Regions from separate parts of the Homo sapiens genome. Here regions 1, 2, 3 and 4 are each linked to region 5. Evidence: promoter capture Hi-C in 16 types of primary human blood cells and fetal thymus (Javierre and others, 2016). All regions are on one chromosome and are shown on one strand. Each heading gives the region's core, a stretch centred on a gene start or on the middle of the fragment in contact. The rest is flanking DNA. Distances are from core to core; before and after follow the strand shown.

Region 1 (4,422 bases), core at 1,449-3,948, 420 kb after region 5:
TACAGAGCGAACATACCTCAAAACAATAAAAGTCATATATGACAAACCCACAACCAACATCATACTGAATGGGGAAAGATGAAAGTTTTTCCTCTACAATCTGTAGCAAGACAAGGATGTCTACTTCCACCACTTTTATTCAACTGGAAATGCTAATCAAAGCAATTGGCCAGAGAAAGAAATAAAGGGCATCCAACTTGGACAGAAGGAAGTCAAACTGTCCCTAAAATTAGGCTGGGTGTTGTGCTTCACACCTGTTAATCCTAGCACTTTGGGTGGCCAAGGCGGGTGGACTGCTTGAGCCCAGGAGTTCTAGACCAGCCTGGGCAACATGGCAACACCTTGTCTCTACAAAGAATACAAAAATCAGCTGGGCACGGTGGTGCATGCCTACAGTCCCAGCTACTCGGGAGACTGAGATGGAAGGACTGCTTGAGCCTGGTTCCATCTAAAAAAAAAAAAAAAAAAAAAAAAAAAGCCCTAAAATCTCCACTAGAAAACTCAGAACTAATAAGTGAATTCAATAAACTTGCAGGATACAAAATCAACATAAAAATCAGTAGTGTGTCTATATACCAACAATAAAATAGCAGAAAAAGAAATCAAGAAGGCAATCTCATTTACGATAGCCACAAATTAATGCCCTAAGAATAAATTCTTAGGAGAAATTTATCTTTTATGAAGGAGGTAAAAGATCTCCATGAGGAAAAATAAAAAACACTGATGTAAGAAAGAGTATAGGGAAAAAATGGAAAGATATACCATGTTCATGGATTGGACGAATATTGTGAAAATGACCATACTACCAAAAGTGATCTACAGATTCAATGCAATCCCTACCAAAATACCAACGGTATTCTTCACAGAAATAGAAAAAAAATCCTAAAATTCATATGGAACCACAAAAGACCCCAGATAGCCAAAACAATCCTGGACAAAAAGGAATCACACTACTAGACTTCAAAATATAAGACAAAGCTATAGTAACCATAACTGCATGCTACTGGCATAAAAAACAGACCCATAGACCAATGGAACAGAATAGAGAACCCAGAAAGAAATCCATATATTTATAGCCAACTGTTTTTTGACAAAGGAACCAAGAATATTCACTGGGGATAGGGACAGTCTCTTCAATAAATGCTGCTCGGAAAACTTGATATCCATTATTCAGAAAAATAAAACTAGACCCCTTAGCTCTCACCATATACAAAAATCAACCCAAAATGGATTAAAGACTTAACTGTAAGACCCAAAACTATAAAACTACTAGAAGAAAACGTAGCAGAAATGCTTCAGGACATTGGTCTGGGCAAAAAGTTTATGGAGACCTCAAAAGTACAGGCAACAAAAGCAAAAGCAAAAACAGGATTATATTAAACTAAAAAGCTTCTACACAACAAAGGACACGATGAAATGAGTGAAGAGACAGTCTGCAGAATGGGAGAAAATATTTACAAACTATTCATCTGACAAGGGATTAATAGCCAGAATATACAAGAAAGAAAAAACTCAACAGCAAAAAAACACAAATAATCTATTTAAAAATGGGCAAATGAGCTGAATAGATCTCTCTCAAAAGAAGACATACAAATGGCTAACAGGTGTTTTGGAATAATGGGCCTCTACACAGGCCTTGAAGCCAAACTGCTGTAGACGGTTCTCACTGCCGCTTCCATTTATGAGAAACTGATGGTTGCTATCTTCACAGTTATGCGGCTGAAGAGTACAAGCAAGCACTGAGATGTCTTATAGTAAAAAGTTCAGAAGATGCTCAAGGTGGAGGATTTTCTTCTAAGCGAAGAGAAGTAATTTTCCTATTACTCTGGCTCCTTCCACCACAAATGTCATCCTTATTGGTTTGAAAAGCATCTAAAAGTAAACAGGAAGTATAGCAGGCTAGCCCCGTTGCCAATTTAATTTTTACGATCCATGGTTAGATTTTGTGGTGAAGGTTGAACTAATATGTAAAGAAGGCCGGGCGCGGTGGCTCATGCCTGTAATCCCAGCATTTTGGGAGGCCGAGGTGGGCAGATCACAAGGTCAGGAGATTGATACCATCCTGGCTAACACGGTGAAACCCCATCTCTCCTAAAAATACAAAAAATTAGCCGGGCATGGTGGTGGGCGCCTGTAGTCCCAGCTACTCGGGAGGCTGAGGAAGGAGAATGGTGTGAACCTGGGAGGTGGAGATTGCAGTGAGCAGAGATCGCGCCACTGCACTCCAGCCTGGGCGACAGAGCAAGATTCTATCTCAAAAAAAAAAAAAAAAAGAAAGAAAGAAAGAAAAGAAAAGAAAACATTATTGAAAACCCTTGGCCGGGAGCAGTGGCTCACGCCTGTAATCCCAGCACTTTGGTAGGCCAAGGCGAGCAGATCACGAAGTCAGGAGATCAAGACCGTCCTGGCTAACATGGTGAAACCCCATCTCCACTAAAAATACAAAAAATTAGCTGGGCGTGGTGGCGGGCACCCGTAGTCCCAGCTACTTGGGAGGCTGAGGCAAGAGAAGAGTGTGAACCCAGGAGGCGGAGCTTGCCGTGAGCCGAGATCGCACCACTGCACTCCAGCCTGGGTGACACAGCGAGACTCCATCTCAAAAAAAAAAAAAAGAAAAGAAAAGAAAACCCCTAATAAACTGTCAGCACAAAAGAAAAATCAATCACTCAATCAGCCAATCAGTCTGTTCAGACTGAGAGAGAGTTAAGGCCCATTAACTTGAGTAGCCTCTCAGTCCTATTCCCAATCTCCACTCTGGGAGGTCACTGACTCTATTAAAAACACACATACAGAAGGCTCTGGGGGTGGGAATGATAACCAGTTTTAAATAGTTGGTTTCATTTAACTTTTATCTTCCTTTCTCCCCATAGGCCTTAAAGATAAGGACCTATGCGTATAAGCTCTTGTAGAGAACATCCATTCTCATCTCTGTTTAATAAAGTAACAAGTCTATCAGTGTTTTAACACAGCCTATAGAGGCACATACACATTAAAAAGCAGAGGCTGGGCACAGTGGCTCATGCCACTTTAAGAGGCCAAGGCAGGAGGCTCACTTAACCCAGGAGTTTGAGACTGGCCTAGACAACAGAGGGAAACCCCATCTCTACAAAAAACTAAAAAATTAGCCAGGCATGGTGGTGTATGCCTGCAGTCCCAGCTACTTGGGAGGCTGAGGTGGGAGGATCACTTGAGCCTAACAGGTCAAAGCTGCAGTGAGCAGTTGAGCAGTGACTGTGCCACTACACTCCAGCCTGGGCAACAGAGTGAGACCCTGTGTAAAAAAAAAAAAAAAAAAAAACAACAAAAAACAGATGTCTACGGCAAGGACTAAAAAGAATTCATCTCCTTCCAGCTGATCATGGGCTTACTGTGTGATCTAGGGAAGTTCTTTTTTCCTAAGGCATTGTTCCCCTCACCTATTAGAAGAGACTACTCACAGCAATATAGTGAATCACAAACTTCTTGAGTAGAAACCATGCCTTTTTCATCCCTGTTTCTTTAGCACAAAATCTGGCACTTAGTAAATCACTTCATGGATGTTTATTAATGAATGAAAACTTCAAATAACTGTTAGGAATATACTAAAATAAAATGCTATTTTATTTATAAATAGAGCAGTGACCAAAATAAAACTGGATAGTCCATAGAAATAGGCAGACTGGTACTAAACGAGAGCTGTAATTGTCCTGACATTGCCACAAAGGTATTACTTTGCCTGTGTTAAACCTGGGGGTTAATACTACATAGGATTCAAAGCCCTTACGTGACTGGGCACGGAGCCTAACTCATCAATGATTCAGGAGAGGGTTCTAAAAGCCCCAGATTGTGAGTCAAATGACTCTGAACAAAGCCTTAAGAAATGTTTTCCTTAAAGCCAAATATAAGAAGATTACCTCTTCCTTATTTAACCTTTACCTCTTTAGCGTCTCTTAACTTTCATTCTTTTCTTGCCTGCTTCCCTCCCCCATTAAAGAAATGGTTTTCTTTTGTTAATAAACAAAGCTTACAAAGATGGTGCTTGTGGCAGAGTTGGTCTCAATTTCACTATCAGACAAAGTGCCCCGAGAGCTTGCCAGGTGAACACTGCCCTCGCCACCTGGTCCATCACCTGCATTGCTGCTCAAGTCACTGTCAGCTCCAAGGGTCTCTCCAGAGCTATTACTCACCTGGAAAGGAAAAAAGGTAGTAAGAGACAGTCCCCAGGGATGGGCCCCAGAAATACCAAGCTGTTAGAGCTCCCTGCCACCATAAAAAAGTATTAAATTTCAAAAGTGTGTCAGATAGCCTCTGGAAGTACCTTCTTTATAAGATGAGAAGCTCTGGGTGAAATCTCGTATACACACACCTATGATGGTAAACATCTCCACCATGAGAACCATGCTGACCTGAGACTCAGAGCAGCCTCCAAAGAGAAAGTAGCAC
Region 2 (4,037 bases), core at 710-3,209, 440 kb before region 5:
GAGCAGGACCTAGACCAAACCCGTGGTGTTTTGGTAGCAAAAGAACAAAGTGGAAATGTAGAGGTGATATGGGTTAAACTGTGCCCCAAAAAGATATGTTGGATTTCTCGCCCCCAATACCTATGAGTGGGATCTTATTTAGAAATAGGCTCTTTACAAGCCTGCACTGCCAAGACAATCCTAAGCCAAAAGAACAAAGCTGGAAGCATCATGCTAGCTGACGTCAAACTATACTACAAGGCTACAGTAACCAAAAGAGCATGGCACTGGTACCAAAACAGAGATATAGACCAATGGAACAGAACAGAGCCCTCAGAAATAATACCACACATCTACAACCATCTGATCTTTGACAAACCTGACAAAAACAAGCAATGGGGAAAGGATTCCCAATTTAATAAATGGTGCTGGGAAAACTGGCTAGCCATATGTAGAAAGCTGAAACTGACAAAAATTAATTCAAGATGGATTAAAGACTTAAATGTCAGACCTAAAACCATAAAAACCCTAGAAGAAAACCTAGGCAATACTATTCAGGACATAGGCATGGGCAAGGACTTTACGTCTAAAACACCAAAAGCAATGGCAACAAAAGACAAAATTGACAAATTGGATCTAATTAAACTAAAGAGCTTCTGCACAGCAAAAGAAACTACCATCAGAGTGAACAGGCAACCTACAGAATGGGAGAAAATTTTTGCAATCTACCCATCTGACAAAGGGCTAATATCCAGAAACTACAAAGAACTTAAACAAATTTACAAGAAAAAATCAAACAACCCCATCAAAAAGTGGGCGAAGGATATGAACAGACACTTCTCAAAAGAAGACATTTATGCAGCCAAAAGACACATGAAAAAATGCTCATCATCGCTGGCCATCAGAGAAATGCAAATCAAAACCACAATGAGATAGCATCTCACACCAGTTAGAATGGCAATCATTAAAAAGTCAGGAAACAACAGGTGCTGGAGAGGATGTGGAGAAATAGCAACACTTTTACACTGTTGTTGGGACTGTAAACTAGTTCAACCATTGTGGAAGACAATGTGGTGATTCCTCAAGGATATGAAACTAGAAATACCATTTGACCCAGCCATCCCATTACTGGGTATATACCCAAAGGATTATAAATCATGCTGCTATAAAGACACATGCACATGTATGTTTATTGCAGCACTATTCACAATAGCAAAGACTTGGAACCAACCGAAATGCCCATCAATGATAGACTGGACTAAGAAAAATGTGGCACACATTCACCATGGAATACTATGCAGCCATAAAAGGATGAGTTCAGGTCCTTTGTAGGGACATGGATGAAGCTGGAAACCATCATTCTCAGCAAACGATCGCAAGGACAGAAAACCAAACACCGCATGTTCTTACTCATAGGTGGGAATTGAACAATGAGAACACTTGGACACAGGGAGGGGAACATCACACACCGGGGCCTGTCATGGGGTGGGGGGAGGGATAGCATTAGGAGATATACCTAATGTAAATGATGAGTTAATGGGTGCAGCACACCAACATGGCACATGTACACATATGTAACAAACCTGCATGTTGTGCTCATGTATCCTAGAACTTAAAGTATAAAAAAAAAAGGCTCTTTACAAATGTAAACAAATTAAAATGAGATCATACTAGATTAGAGTGGGCCCTGAATCCCATATGACTAGTGTCCTTATAGGAGGAAAAGAGACAAAGAGACATAGACACATGAGGGGAGATGGCCATGTGAACACAGAGGCAGACATCAGAGTGTTGCTGCCACAAAACCAAGGGACGCCTGGGGCTCCCAGAAGCTGCGGAGGCAAGGAAGGGCGCTGCCCAGAGGTTTAGAAGGGAGTGTGACCCTGCCCACACCTTAATTTGGGACTTGTGGCCTCTAGACAGTAAATTTCTGTTGTTTTCAGCCTCCCAGTTTGTGGTGCTTTTTTATGGCAGCCTAGAGAACTAATACAAAGGTTAGAATATAGGAAAAAGGATAACCCTTGCCTTCAAGCAGTTGCAACCTGGAGGAGAGGTGTACTGTACACAGAAAAAACTAACATTACAAAAAGGCAGAATTAAAGAAATGCTGAATATTGGTAACAAGCAACAGGGGAAACAAGGCAGTCTGAGCACACAGAACTCAAGTCCTCCTAATGGGATCCCAGAATGCCCATGGAGGAAGCAGCATGTGCACTGTGCTGAGTGCTGAGCAGGATTTCAAGAGAGCAAAGGCAGAGATGCTGGACAGGGCAGCACAGGAGGACGAGTGTGCATGGTCACTCTGAGCAGGGCTGGTTCCTGGGCTGGTTGGAGCACAGCATGGGGAACTGAAAGGCAGACACTGGCCAAGAAATTCCTTGTGCAGGGCTTCAGAAGTGAGCCTCACAAGCCATCCTAGGCCACACTGCCATCAAGCCCCAGACCTCTACATGCCCATTTGGTTTCTTTCCAGCTCATATAGCTTCCTAAGTATTGTGGCTAACAGTTCCCTGACTTGAATTCCTAGTTTCTGTTAACAGTTTTCTAACTTTCAGGAAAAACAAGCCAATTTCTAAGGAAAGTGGCTGTGCTTCAGTCAGGAGTAGTCCAAGGTAGACATCCAGGACAGTATGACGCAAAGGGTTTGGAGCGCAACAACCCCTTGCGTTATATAGCCATTTAATGTAACCTGTTTGTGTGAGTTCATACCTGGCTTTGAGCCACTATTGTCTGTGAGTAATATAACTGCACTGCTGACTCTGTAGGAGAGAGAATAAAGCCATGTCCCAACTGCCTACAGTCCCTCGAGTGTTCTTTCAGCTACCTGCCACCCATCCACCAACTCCCCTCAGATCCCAGCTTGGGTTGGAACCTGACACAATTAAAAACAGTATTTACAGCAACATACTTCGTATTCCTCTGCGAACCCACAGTTGGAGTCAGCTTGCTGCTTCTTGAAGTAGGCCTCAAAATTCTCCACTCTGATTAACTTAGATCTAAGAAAACAAAACTTATCAGGATTTTTTACATTCAGTGAAGTCCATATTCAATAGAAAAGTACAAGTTATTAAAAAAAATAAAGAGATTACTCACTTTTTAGGTCTTCATGATAGAAAGGGAAAGAAAAAATATGCAATTAGAAAGACTCATTCATACTCTAGAAATGACAGTAAACAATCTTCCCAAAACAACAAAACCCAGGGTATAATTTGGCAAGAGGGGGTCAGAGTACTATTATTCACAAAACACTAAAATATGATTCAGGAAATCTGATTTCTAGACCCTACTTTGTAACTAATTGGTTTTGTGACTTTAAGTAAGTTCTTCTCTCCCCTGGATCTTGATAACCTATTTGACGTTTTTTTAATCAAGAAATCCGTATTTATTGGTAGAAGAGTAGAACATGACAAGGAAGCCAGCTTCAGGAGACTAATAAAACATAGATTCCTTGCAGAAAACAGAGCTAGCAAAAACTTCCAGATGGTCATGGTCAAAATGTGCCAATCAGGAAAAATGACAGCAAGTTCCATCAAAAATTATTTATAGATAGTCACCGAACAGATTGGAGGATTTAAAATAAAGCTCATAATTTGAGAGACTTACTTAATTTGAGAAAAGGACACTTCATTATTCTTTGCATCTTTCCTGTTTTAAGAGAAAAGAGACCCATTAGACAAAAAAGGATTCCTTCCTGTGCTTTTCCCTTGTGTATCTGGAGTTGATGTCATCTATGAAATAAAGGTGTTACACCTTTTCCTCAGGCATTAGTTCACAGCTGACACCAAATCCTGCCCCCTAATACTAAACTTAATGACCCAAGCTGCAAATGCTAATTACAAATTTGTGAAGTTATTTTCTTTTGTACTATCTAAAAGAATGAAAAAAATCATATCCAAGTCACTTTTAAGAACTTCCTTGCAAATATATAGCAGTGGCATTACTTTAATGTAAAGCAAGACTTGTTATTTCATACTTTGTTTTTGAGAAAGCTTTTCTGATAAATGAATGCAATAAACCAAAAAACATATCAGATCCGGAACTGGCAAGTTGGTGAGGCA
Region 3 (4,137 bases), core at 45-2,544, 400 kb before region 5:
CGGCAGTCATTCTCAAGGAGCTTGGGACTAATCCCAAAAGAGTAAAGATGGTGTAAGTGTTACCATCTTGCTATGTGCATGGACAGTGTGCCTCATCTGGCTCATGGGATATACAAACATTCATCCAATCAATAAAAAAACTGCAGGAAGCCAGGCACACTGGCTCATGCCTGTAATCCCAGCACTTTGGGAGGCTGAGGCAGGCAGATCAGATCACTTGAGGTCAGGAGTTCGACACCAGCCTGGCCAACATGGTGAAACCCCGTCTCTACCAAAAATACAAAAATTAATTGGGCATGGTGGCAGCCACCTGTGATCCCAGCTACTCGGGAAGCTGAGGCAGGAGAATCACTTGAACCCAGGAGGCAGAGTTTGCAGTGAACCAAGATCACACCACTGCACTCCAGCCTGGGCAACAGAGCAAGACTCTGTCTCAAAAGAAAAAATAAATAAATAAGGCAGGAGAATAAACAAGAGAAAGGAAAATGGAACAAGCAGGGAAGCATCTTGTGCCCCACAATTCAATAAACGTCATGCCAGAAGGCCCCTCCAAGCTTGAATTTCCTCTTTATAAAGTGACAAGTTCACAGAGTCAGAGTGGCATATTTGGAAGATGACCACTGTGCTTCCATTTACAATCAATAACAATGATGGTGACGAGGATGATGAAACAACATCAGTTACAGTGGTGCAGGTAGCAAGAACAGCAGCACTCCTTTTGAGAGGCCGTCCATGTCCCAGATGCTGTACAAGTATGTTCTCATTTATGCCTCACAACAACTTCATGAGAAAGGTATGGCACCATTATTTCTTTTTTTTTTTTTTTTTTTTTTGAGACGAAGTCTTGCTCGTCACCCAGACTGGAGTGTAGTGGCGTGATCTTGGCTCACTGCAACCTCTGCCTCCCGGGTTCAGGCGATTCTCCTGCCTCAGCCTCCCAAGTAGCTGGGATTAAAGGCACACACCATCATGCCCAGCTAATGTCACCATTTTAAAGAAGGAGAAATGTGTTAAGAACTAAATTTTGTTGATTCATACAGGGATTCTGGGAAGGTTTTGGAAAAGCAAGTTCTTAAGTTCAGAAAAGAAAGCACAGTTAACAATATTTTTTGGTCAAATGTTTTTTCTGCATCTACTGAAATGATTGTATGGTTTCTGTCCTCCATTCTGTTAATATGGTGTAGCACATTTATTGTTTTGCACAGGTTGAACCCTTTTTGTATTTCTAGGAAGAATCCCAGTTGATCATGGTGAATGATCTCTTTAATATGCTGTTAAATTAGGTTTGCTAGTATTTGGTTAAAGATTTTTGCATCTTGGCCTATAGTGTTTTGGGTTGTATCCTTGTCTGGTTTTCGTATCAAGGTAATACTGCTCTTGTTAAATGAGTTTGGAAGTATTCTCTCCTCCTCAATTTTTGGAAGCAATTGAGAAGAACTGTCATTAGATCTTCTTTAAAGGTTTGGCAGAGGACTGGGTGGCTCACACCTGTAATCTCAGCACTTCGGGAGGCCAAGGTGGTGGGGGTCACTTGAGGCTGGGAGTTCAAGAGCAGCCTGGGCAACACAGTGAGACCCCATCTCTACAAAAAAATTTTAAAAGTTAGCTGGATGTAGTGGTGCACACCAATAGCCACAGCTACTTGAGAGGCTAAGGCAGAAGGATCATTTCAGCCCAGGAGTTCAACTTACAGTGATCTATGATCACACCACTGTACTCCAGCCTGGGTGACAGAGGGAGTCACTGTCTCTTAGAATAACAACAGTAATAAATAGAAATGGGAGATGGTCTATTACTGATTCAATCTCCTAACTCATTATTGGATTATTCAGATTTTCTATTTCTTCATAATTCAATCATAGTAAATGGTATATGGCAAGGAATTTATCCATTTCTTCTAGGTTATCCAATTTGTTGGCATATAATTGTTCATAATTGTTCCTTTGTATTTCTGTGGTATCAGTTTATAATGTCTCATTTCTGATTTTCTTATTTGAGTAGCGTCTCTTTTTTCTTAGTCTAGCTAAAGCTTTGTCAATGTTCTTTGTTTTCAAAAAAACAACTTAGTTTATTGATCTTTTCTATTGTTTTTCTAGTGCCTATTTCATTTATTTCAGCTTTGACCTTTATTATTTTGTTCCTTTTACTAATTTGAAGATTAGTTTGTTCTTATTTTTCTAGTTCCTTAACGTGCTACATTAGGTTATTTACTTGAGGGTTTTGTTTTGTTTTTTTCAGACAGGCTCTCAAAACCCAGGCTGGAGGTATGAGCTTGCTTTTTTTTTTTTTTTTTTTTTTTTTTTTTTTTTTTGAGACAGAATCTTGCTCTGTTGCCCAGGCTGGAGTGCAGTGGTGCGATCTCGGCTCACTGCAATCTCTGCCCTCTGGGTTCAAGCAATTCTCCTGCCTCAGCCTTCCTAGTAGCTGGGATTACAGGTGTGTGTCACTACACCCAGCTAATTTTTGTATTTTTAGTAGAGACGGGGTTTCACCATGTTGGCCAGGCTGGTCTCGAACTCCTGACCTCAAGTGATCCGCCCATCTCGGCCTCCCAAAGTTCTGGGATTACAGGCACGAGCCACTGTGCCCAGGGAGCTTTCTTTTTTGATGTAGGAGTTTATTGCTGTCAACTTTCTTGGAAGGGCTGCTTTTGGTGTATCCCATAGGCTTTAGTATATTGTGTTTCCATTTTCATTTGCTTCAAGAAATTTTTAAATGTCCCTTTTAATTTCTTCACTGACCCATTGATTGTTCAGGGGCATTTGTGACAAAACAATTAACAATAGTTACTGTGGGAGATGGCAAGATCAGCATGACCCCTGCTGGGGACCTGCTGTAAGTGACCTGGGGACAGATCCTATACCAGGGGCTGTACAAGCATTTTCTAATTTATGTCTCACAGCAATTTCATGAAGGAGGTTATGGCACCATTTTAAAGAAGAAAAAGAAATATGTTAACAAAATTGCTTAAGAAGTGATGTTTGTCTCAAGATATTTTTTAGTTTCCCTTTTAATTTCATCATCAACCCATTAGTTATTCAGGAGCATGTTGTTTAATTTCCATATATCTGTGAATTTTCTTAAGTTCCTCCTGTTATTTATTTCTAGTTTGATGCCATCATCAGAAAAGATACTTGATATGATTTCACACTTCTTAAATCTGTTAACACTTGTTTTGTGGTCTAACATATGATCTACCTGGAGAATGTTCCAGGTGCAGTTGAAAAGTGTGTATTCTACAGCTGTTGGATGGAATGTTCTGTATATGTCTGATACATCCATTTGGTCTAAACTGTAGTTTAAGTCTGATGCTTCCTTATTGATTTCCTGTCTGGATCATTGTCCATTGCTGGAAGTAAGGTGGTGGAAGTCCTCTACTATGAATGCATTGCAGTCAATCTGTCCATTCAGATCCATTAATATTTGCTTTATATATTTAGGCATTCCAATGCTGGGTGCATATATATTTATAATTGTTAAGACCTCTTGATGAATTGATCCCTTTATCATTATAAAATGATGTTTGTTGTCTCCATTAAAAGTTTTGAACTTAAAGTCTATTTTATCTGACATAAGTATAGCTACTCCTGCCACTCTTTAGATTTCCATTAGCATGGAGTATCTTTTTCCATCCCTTCACTTTCAGTCTAGGCATGTCCTTGCAGGTGAGGTGAGTCTCTTGTAGACAGCATACTATTGAGATCGGTTTTTTTTTTTAACCCATTCACGCACTCTATGTCTTTTGATTGGAGAATTTAAACCCTTTACTTTCAAGGTTATTATTGATAGGTAAGAACTTACTACTGCCATTTGGTTGTTTTATAGACTCTTTGTTCCTTCCGTCCTCTCTTACTATCTTCCTTTGAGGTTAAGTGATATTCTCTAGTAGTATGTTTTGATTCCTTGCTTTTTATTTTTTGTGTATCTACTAAAGGTTCTTCTTTGTGGTTACCATGAGGCTTATAAAAAGAATCTTATAGTTATAACAGGTTATTTTATGCTGATGACAACTTTGATCACACACACAAATTGACCTCTACACTTCTAGTCCATTCCCCACTCATATTATGAATTGTTTATGTCACCATTTACATCTTTTTATATTGCATATCCCCCCTGCAAGTTATTGTAGTTATT
Region 4 (4,255 bases), core at 1,653-4,152, 440 kb after region 5:
GAGATTGTGCCACTGTACTCCAGCCTGGGGGATAGAGGGAGACTCTGTCTCCAAAAAACACCAAATATATGCCCAAAGAGAAAACTGTTACTCTCTTACTGTGTCTAATTCATAAATTAAACGGTATCACCGGTATATATGTATAGAAAAAAACAAAGTATCTATAGAGTTTGGAACTATCTGTGGTTTGAGGCATCCACTGGTGGGTCTTGGAATGTGTCCTCCACAGATAAGGAGGAACTACTGTATTACGTAACACACGTAACACCTGCTGCAGTGTAGCCAGTGGCCTACAGTCATTAACATTTGTTGTGATAAATGAAAACTAAAATAGCATAAGCCTTGCCACCAGATCAGTTCAAATCAGTCAGATTTTGTAGACAAATAAGTTATGACAAAGGATTGAGGACCAGCACTCACTTACAACTTCTTTGAGCATTAAGCCTCCTCCCTCAGGAAGACAGAGGTGAGAAAGCCGGAAGTCGCCTTGAGACTCACCTGCTCTGCTGATGCCATGCAGGTGGGTAGCAGCGGGATGACAGGAAACATATACTCCAGTGGGTAGATCATTGCCACGAATGCCATCACAGACATGGAGAGTGCATTGTAGTCTCGGGACTGTAGCACCACCTGTCATGAGCCATCCAGTAAGAATCACTCCAAAACATAAAATATGGTTTACAAGAAAACAGCTTCCAACATTACAACTTGGTTTCCACTTCATCGAGCCTACAGCTCCAGCTTTGTCTCTCCCACTGCCCCCTGCCCCACCATGCCTGCCACCTCCCAATCCAGGCACAATGGTGATCCTCAGTCACCTGAGATATGCAAATCACTCCCTTACCTTCCTAGTTCTTGTACTGCCCATCCCAGGACCACTCACTGAAACAGAACTACTGATATTTCCAAAGAATTAGGTCAGTACAATTAAGGATAAGCCCTAATGAATGGTAAACCCTCTAAATACATCCCACATGATACCAGTATCTTAATTCAACCCACATCTACGGAACACCTGCTGTTTACCAGGCATCATGTTACCTCCTGAAGACAAAAAGGTGAAAAATATGTAGTCCCTGTCCTCTAAGAGCTCGTGGTCTGGCCACTGGCATATTTAAGAGTTTCTCCCCTAGAAAGGTCTAGGAAGCTTGCCTCTCACCTTGTGCTCTAACAGAATGCAGGTTAGCACCTGGAGACAGGCGTCCACACCTAGAAGTTCCAAGGGAAGGTGCAGTGGGAAATCCACTAGGGTGAATCGAGATGGGTCTGGAAGAGCAAAGGTCAGAGCTGGCTGGAGCTCTTGGGGTAGGACCTCGATGTCTACTCGCTTCTGCCCAGAGACGGGTACTGGGGAGCGCAGCAATCGATAGATCCAGGCCTCAATCTCTCGAAGGTCATGCAGAAGGGCACTTGACTTCTCCTCTACCAGCAGCGATCCAGTAAAGATCCGCCACATGGTGTCCCTGAGAAGCAGACAGCAGGAATCAGACACATTAGCATCAGAAGCTGATACCCTACTGCAACTCAGTATCACCACAGAGGCTCTAATGATGACAATGGGAAACGGAGCATCATTAAGAAAGCCCAGTCTCTGAGCTCAGATAGGACCGGAAAGTATATACAATGGCAAAAGCAAATGTAAAGATATATACTGGGTAAGACTTACTGTCCTAACCACAGTTAAAACACCAAATTCCAGCATTACTCCAAACACAATTTTGGAAAGAGGTCTAACTCTGCAGCAGTCTTTTGCTTAGTAAAGATTAACTCTTGGCTGGGGATGATGCTCACGCCTATAATCCCAGCACTTTGGGAGGCCAACGTGGGTGGACCACCTGAGGTGAGGAGTTTGAGACCAGCCTGGCCAACATGGCGAAACCTTGTCTCTACAAAAATACCAAAATTAGCTGGTCATGGTGGCGTGCACCTGTAATCCCAGCTACTCGGGAGGCTGAGGCAGAAGGATCACTTGAACCCAGGAGGCAGGGGTTGCAGTGAGCCGAGATCGCACCACTGTACTCCAGCCTGGGCAACAGAGCGAGACTGTCTCCAAAAGAAAAAAGATTAACTCTAAATACTCTAAATATGCTTAATAGGTCTGAAGGACCTTGAGCTGTAGAGGAAATTTCCTATGCCCCTCAAAGACCAATTACATGGAATCTCTAAATGCTTCCCCCATTAGGCATCAGCAGCAAACTGTACCTTTGTACGCCTCGAGGGATGCCCAGTTTCTTGCCCAGAAGGCGCTCACTACAGCAGTCCACCAGGCGCTTGAGAGTATACAAACACTCTCGGAAGGTGGAGAAGAAAGGGTAGTGGCTGAGCACGCACAGGGACGTGAGAGTACTGTTGCGGGAGCGGCTCCCCGCCTTGGCCCGGCGTTTGCCCCGAGGAGACTGGTTCACATCAGGGGTAGAGTCAGCACTGAGAGGCTGCAGGGATGAGCCACTCTCTGAGCTCTCAGTGCCACCCTCTTCTGAGGCACAGGTGGCATGGGTTCCTTCCTTCCCACGGGACCCTGCCCCACCTTCCCCCTTCTCCTTAGAGATTCGCTTTTGGAAGGAGCGGTAGAAGTTAACACAGATGCCATATCGCGTGACTCCAGTGTCCTTGTCAGTGAGGGTGAAGACAAAAGAGGTATCATCCCGAAGGCTCATGCGCCGCTGCCGCACGCTCAGGCAGCCCTCGGGCTGGCAGAAGAACACTACATCTGGGGGCAGGGGAAACTCAGTGTGATCCTCCAAGGGGTATCGCCGTAGCAATTCAGGAGTCTGGGCCACGCTATCACTGCTCGGGTGCCTGAAGAACATAAAGACAAATTCAGCAGCCTGAAGGGATGGAATGGGCTATCAAATTTTAACCACAGTCAACAAATAAAGCTCAAGATGCTATTTTGGATAAAGTAACCTGACTGTAACACCTTGGAAAATATGGGTGCTGCCTGCCGCATGGAGCTGGTAACCTAAGTGAAGTCTACACTGTCATGAAGGCATCTATTCTGAAACGAAGGGGAGATTTTGACAATAAAATTATCACTGGCACCTTAAGATGATTAACATCTTTTAAAGTGAATTAACTAATAAATTACCAAAAAAGTATACATAGAGGAGTAGCTTATAATGTACTTTTTCTTTTTACAAAATAAGAAAACTGAGGTATAAAGAGTATATTTGCTCGACATCAAGAAGATGTTAGTTAAGAGCAGGGTTTTGCTTTCAATCCACCTGATTTTGTTTTTTCCCTACTGGCTTCGATGCTCCCATCAGGGTAAAATAACAGGAGAAGATGAGCTATGCAAAGCAACATGGAAATCGGAGAAGGGAACAACTGCAGATTTTATGGCTATCCCAGATATTAAGACAAAAGTCAATCTCTTCTTGGTTACCTGGCCCCTACGATCACTAGATAGTCAAGTAACCGAGGACAGAACTTCTTCTTTTGCACCATGGTTCCAATTCATCAGTTTATCTCAGAGAAGCATCAGGGCACCAAGCAAGGAGTCAGCATTCCCAGGAGGAATTCTGAAAATCGAAGTCTAATAGGAAAAAAAGTACTGATAAGATCCACTGCTGTGCCTAAGGGACTCATCCCTCTCAACTTCTTCCCGGCCAGAGGCAGAGGTCAGAAGGTCTTCCACTTTCATACTAATGATAGGAGAACTTGACGCTTGCCTAGCCTCGTGTCTAGGCTCATGAGCTCACAGAATCGAATGTTAAAAAATAGATAGGCCAGGCATGGTGGCTCACGCCTGTAATCCCAGAACTCTGGGAGGCCGAGGCGGATCACCTGAGGTCAGGAGTTTGAGACCAGCTGGCCAACATGGCAAAACCCCATCTCTACTAAAAATACAAAAAAATTAGCCGGGTGTGGTGGCACACATCTGTAATCCCAGCTACTCGGGAGTCTGAGGCATGAGAATCGCTTGAACCCAGGAGGTGGAGGCTGTGGTGAGCTGAGATCGCACCACTGCACTCGAGCCTGGGTGACAGAGTGAGACTCCGTCTCAAGAAAAAAAAAAAAATGTAGATAAATAATGGTTCACCTACCTATCCCTACCAATGACTTAATTTCCAGCTTAACGCCTGGGGCTCTGTTTCTGAAAAACAGACCTAGGCCATCTAATCTGGACTCAGTCATTGTAACAAAAATTGAAGTCACTCTCAGGATCCCTCCAGGGTGGATCAGGATCAAACCAGACTCCTCAACTAGCTAGCACTAACCTGCACTTCTAGGTCTAGATGGAAACTTAATTATT
Region 5 (4,240 bases), core at 755-3,254:
TTCAAAGTCTTAACCAGTTTTATTGTCAAATAAACTATAAATGTTATGGGGGAGATCTTATAAATTTCCTGGGCAAGAGTGTATGCATACAAAGTTTTCACTTTTGTGAAATGTAATTTTTCTGTTTTTGCAAAGGGATGAGGTGATTGGAATTGCTTTGACCATGCTGCCTTTATTCTCAAACTGGCAAACTTAGCATGTTAGGTGTATTAACCTCATCAGTCTTGAAGAACATGTGGCTCATGAGTATAACACTTCTGTAGAGGACTCCCTGACAAAAGTGAAGAATTAACTTCTCCTCCAGAACAAGTGCAATTCAGAAGGCAGCTCTGCATTCTACCTTGCTTGACTGGAATTGTCTGAAGCTTTTTCTGGCCTCTTTTCTCTAGTCGGCCACCCCTGAAGTGCTGAGGTCTAAGTGGTTTACCTCGTGCTGATAGATGGCCACACTCTTTAGAGTAGTTCTCATAAGTTCTAGAACTGGTAGCTCGGTCGTTTCGCACACTAGGTGGCATACAGGCAGCAGCAGGTGTTCATATCCTTGATTTTGAGAATTTCCCCTCAAGTATGTGGCAGTAAATACAACAAGACACTCTATGTATTAATGTCTCCATTGTCTTAACCCTGTTCCAAAACAAAATTCACCTCCTTTCTTTATGTGAATGTATTCTCCATAAAATTCCAGTATTTAAAAAGCAGTTTACTGTTCTGTACTTTCTGTTGTATCACAATCAGGTAAAAGTCACTTTAAACTGAGGAAACGGCAAATTGTGTTTTAAAGCTCTTTGTATTTCTCCAGTTTCTGACCTTGTAAATTTGTATATATGCACTAATAAAGCTTTTTTTATAATCCTGATGGGTTATCCTTTTGCTCGTCAACTCCTGTTATTCTGATTATGTAACCAGGACTTGTTTTTTTTTCTAAGCATATACAATGCAAGGTGCAAACATTTAACAACAGCTTTCAAGAAAATGAGCAGGAGATCTTTAATGGGGAGTGGTGGGGCCAGTTTAGACAAACAGGCTTCTAGTCCCAGATGGTGCTGTGTGATCAAAGTTTTGGGGTCTAATATTATCTATAATATCTAGATTGGTTAATAGCCATATTAGATAATATTTTACCTACTTAATTCCTGGCAATGATGTAATATGGTTAACATTTCAGAAAAAAAGGTGCTTTATAGCTTTTTTCCCCCCACTGATAAAAGTAACAGATACGGTTATATTCATATATAGTTAACCAAAGACACGTGTTTGAATTTTATTGTAGTATATTTATTTTTTTGTTGTTGGTTTTTTGTTTTTTTTTTTTCTGGAGACAGAATTTCGCTCTTGTTGCTCAGGCTGGAGTGCAATGGCACGATCTCGGCTCACCGCAACCTCCGCCTCCCAGGTTCAAGTGATTCTCCTGCCTCAGCCTCCCGAGTAGCTGGGATTACAGGCATGCGCCACCACACCCAGCTAATTTTGTATTTTTAGTAGAGATGGGGTTTTTCCATGTTGGTCAGGCTAGTCTCCAACTCTCGACCTCCCAAAGTTCTGGGATTACAGGCGAGAGCCACCGCGCCTGGCCTGGAGTAAATTTCTATGCATATAATTGATTTTTTTAAACCTAATCAAAATGTGTGATTTGAATTTGTTAGCTCTGTTTCTTAAGATTTGCAGTGTAGAAGGTAATTTTTCCTTTCTAGCTGTGCAGTGGAGAGAATGTTAAGGTGAAAGGAGAGAAGCAGCAGCTCTCTTAGAGCAAATTATGCATAACAGTTATCTAAAGCCAACAGCAAACCAGCTTGGAAGTATGTTGAAGGCTACTGGCATCGTACTCATCAATGCGGTTTCGATTCCGAGGCTGGGGCTGTGATGTATGAGGGGAAGAAAGCCGCTGCCCGCCATACATGTTGCAGACCTTCCCGGGGTCCCCGCTCCCTCCTTGGGGGCGAGGCCTAGCTCCCCGGAAGCGCCCGACCGCCCCGCCCTTTCTCCGCTTCCTGCTTTCGGTTGCTAGACTACCCGGGCCCTCACAGAAGGCGGTGGCGGGCGGGTGCAGCGAGTTTGTCCCCTTGCCCGCACACTGCTTGGCCTCTGTACTTAAGTGCGGTGGCCGCCTGCCTCGCTGGAGCTTCTCTGCCGCAGCCATCCGTGCTGCTTGGGACGGGCCGGGGCGCGAAGGCGGTCGCATCCATCGCTCTGCCCTCCTGGGAAGTTTCTGCTCTCCTTCCCCGCTCCTACCCTTAGGAAACCCCCTCACCACCTGCCCCAGACCAGGTTCCTCTGAACCCTAAATTCAATCTTTAGGGCCCACTTTCCCAACCCCCTGACCTTTTTCCATCGGCACCTACCGAGACGACTTCGTCGCGTGCTCCCATACCCATTTCTTTCACTTTCCTGTGGCGAGCATCTCCTTTCTCAGGGAAAGGGAAGCATGGGGCCAGCACCTTGGGAAGAAGAAGCGGGAAGATACGCTGCCCTCCCTGTCTCAGATGCACCTCTGGCCTCGGCGTGACCACCTTGTTTAGCTGAGGAGAAGCTGGGTTGGCAGGGTTTTCTGAAGTCAAGAGGGAGCTGGGGGGCGCCCGGGGAGGTATTGGCAGTTTTTTCACTTGTCCTCTTGTGGCTTTGTAGCTTCTCTTGTGTAATCAGCTGCCTATTTGGAAATTGGGCAGGGTTTGCGACTGGATGCTAATGTCACTGACTAGTTTTCAGCCTACCATCCAGAAGTAACATGTTCCCAGCTTTGGAAACGCACCTAAAGCAGGTCGGTACACAACACGGAAAGCCACAGAAATTTCTTCGGGGAACTCCATTTCTTCGGGAACTCCACAGAAATCTGCTACTAGATGAGAAGGGATGTTCTGGTGGCATCTTTTCTCAGCTGGAGATCTTGATCCCCACGATAGAATAATTCGCATGGAATGCAGCTCGCTTGGTTTAGTCTAGTCCTATGCAACAACGCTCATGTACTTTTTGTTGAGTCTATTATGGTTTGAAAACATTATCTTGATTGAAGTGGCCTTTCCTTTCACAGACTATTCCTGATCCTTATGAAGACTTTATGTACCGTCACCTCCAATATTATGGCTACTTTAAAGGTAATACCATGTTCTTATCTAGTATCACCTTTCCTGGACTCAAGAGGAAAATTGCTTCGTTAGCTGGGAGGGTTGCACTTGGGTAGACTAATAAATAATTTGCATTGACAAATAAATACTTTTTCCTCTACCATTAGTGAAAAGTACTTCCTTTCCCCATTGATCTGCGGGTCACCTCTGTCAAGTAGACAGCATCACTTAATACAAAGGTCTGTTTCTGGGCTCTCTATTCCATTGGTCTGTTTGGCTATCCTTTACCAGTATCACTGTCTCTTAATTACTATATGGCATTAAAATAGTCTTTATCTGGAAAGACATGTCTTCCCACCTTGTTCTTCAGAAGTGTCACGGCTGTTCTTGAGTCTTTGCCTTACTATATAAATTTTACAATTGGCGGCCGGGCACGGTGGCTCACACCTGTAATCACAGCACTTTGGGAGGCCGAGACGGGTGGAGCACGAGGTCAGGAGATCGAGACCATCCTGGCTAACACGGTGAAACCCCGTCTCTACTAAAAATACAAAAAAATTAGCCGGGCGTGGTGGTGGGTGCCTGTAGTCCCAGCTACTGGGAAGGCTGAGGCAGGAGAATGGCGTGAACCTGGGAGGCGGAGCTTGCAGTGAGCCGAGATCAAGCCACTGCACTCCAGCCTGGGCGACAGAGTGAGACTCTGTCTCAAAAAAAATAAATAAATAAAAATTTAAAAAAATAAATTTTGCAATTGGCTTATGACATTTTATTTTATTTTTTATTTATTTTGAGATGAAGTCTCACCCTGTCGCCCAGGCTGGAGTGCAGTGGCACGATCTCGGCTCACTGCAACCTCTGCCTCCCAGGTTCAAGAGATTCTCCTGCCTCAGCCTCCTGAGTAGCTGGGATTACAGGCACGAGCCACCACGCCTGGGTAATTTTTGTTTCTTTCTTTTTTTTTTTTTTTTTGCGATAGAGTCTCACTCTTTTCACCCAGGCTGAAATGCAATGGCGCAATCTCGGCTCACTGCGACCTCCACCTCCTGGGTTCAAGAGATTCTCCTGCCTCAGCCTCCCAAGTAGCTGGGATTACAGGCGCCCACCACCACTCCCAGCTAATTTTTTTGTGTATTTGTAGTAGAGACGGGGTTTCAACATGTTGGCCAGGCTGGTCTTGAACT

Evidence for each region. Contacts are between HindIII fragments. The CHiCAGO score rates a contact against its expected background, and 5 or more counts as called.
Region 1: a fragment that was not itself captured here is called in contact with the fragment with the promoter of AGBL2 in region 5 in 3 of 17 cell types (megakaryocytes, activated CD4 T cells and monocytes); the score reaches 8.3 in megakaryocytes.
Region 2: a fragment that was not itself captured here is called in contact with the fragment with the promoter of AGBL2 in region 5 in 1 of 17 cell types (total B cells); the score reaches 5.4 in total B cells.
Region 3: a contact is called between a fragment that was not itself captured here and the fragment with the promoter of AGBL2 in region 5, in 2 of 17 cell types (naive B cells and total B cells). The highest score is 9.2, in naive B cells.
Region 4: a fragment that was not itself captured here is called in contact with the fragment with the promoter of AGBL2 in region 5 in 1 of 17 cell types (activated CD4 T cells); the score reaches 5.2 in activated CD4 T cells.

The regions. Positions count from the first base shown.
Region 1 is chr11:47,295,641-47,300,062 of GRCh38, reverse strand. It overlaps MADD (MAP kinase activating death domain), which reads right to left. Exons shown (of 37, transcript NM_001376571.1): 24 at 4,008-4,166. Among named protein-coding and RNA genes, the nearest start is that of MADD-AS1, 26 kb to the right of the region's middle. The HindIII fragment of the contact is 2,613 bases long and covers 1,392-4,004 here.
Region 2 is chr11:48,149,034-48,153,070 of GRCh38, reverse strand. It overlaps PTPRJ (protein tyrosine phosphatase receptor type J), which reads right to left. Exons shown (of 25, transcript NM_002843.4): 16 at 3,583-3,624; 17 at 3,073-3,081; 18 at 2,888-2,975. Among named protein-coding and RNA genes, the nearest start is that of MIR3161, 54 kb to the right of the region's middle. The HindIII fragment of the contact is 4,023 bases long and covers 1-3,970 here.
Region 3 is chr11:48,115,715-48,119,851 of GRCh38, reverse strand. The region is part of intron 3 of PTPRJ (protein tyrosine phosphatase receptor type J); the gene reads right to left. Among named protein-coding and RNA genes, the nearest start is that of MIR3161, 21 kb to the right of the region's middle. The HindIII fragment of the contact is 1,475 bases long and covers 557-2,031 here.
Region 4 is chr11:47,273,107-47,277,361 of GRCh38, reverse strand. MADD (MAP kinase activating death domain) reads right to left here. Exons shown (of 37, transcript NM_001376571.1): 2 at 3,386-3,535; 3 at 2,203-2,799; 4 at 1,160-1,463; 5 at 499-630. The coding sequence starts at 3,447. Among named protein-coding and RNA genes, the nearest start is that of MADD-AS1, 3.1 kb to the right of the region's middle. The HindIII fragment of the contact is 3,506 bases long and covers 1,150-4,255 here.
Region 5 is chr11:47,713,133-47,717,372 of GRCh38, reverse strand. It overlaps AGBL2 (AGBL carboxypeptidase 2), which reads left to right and starts at 2,004. Exons shown (of 19, transcript NM_024783.4): 1 at 2,004-2,198; 2 at 2,623-2,755; 3 at 3,026-3,089. The coding sequence starts at 2,723. It overlaps FNBP4 (formin binding protein 4), which reads left to right. Exons shown (of 17, transcript NM_015308.5): 17 at 1-879. RefSeq lists an enhancer at 2,267-2,326. The HindIII fragment of the contact is 6,151 bases long and covers 841-4,240 here.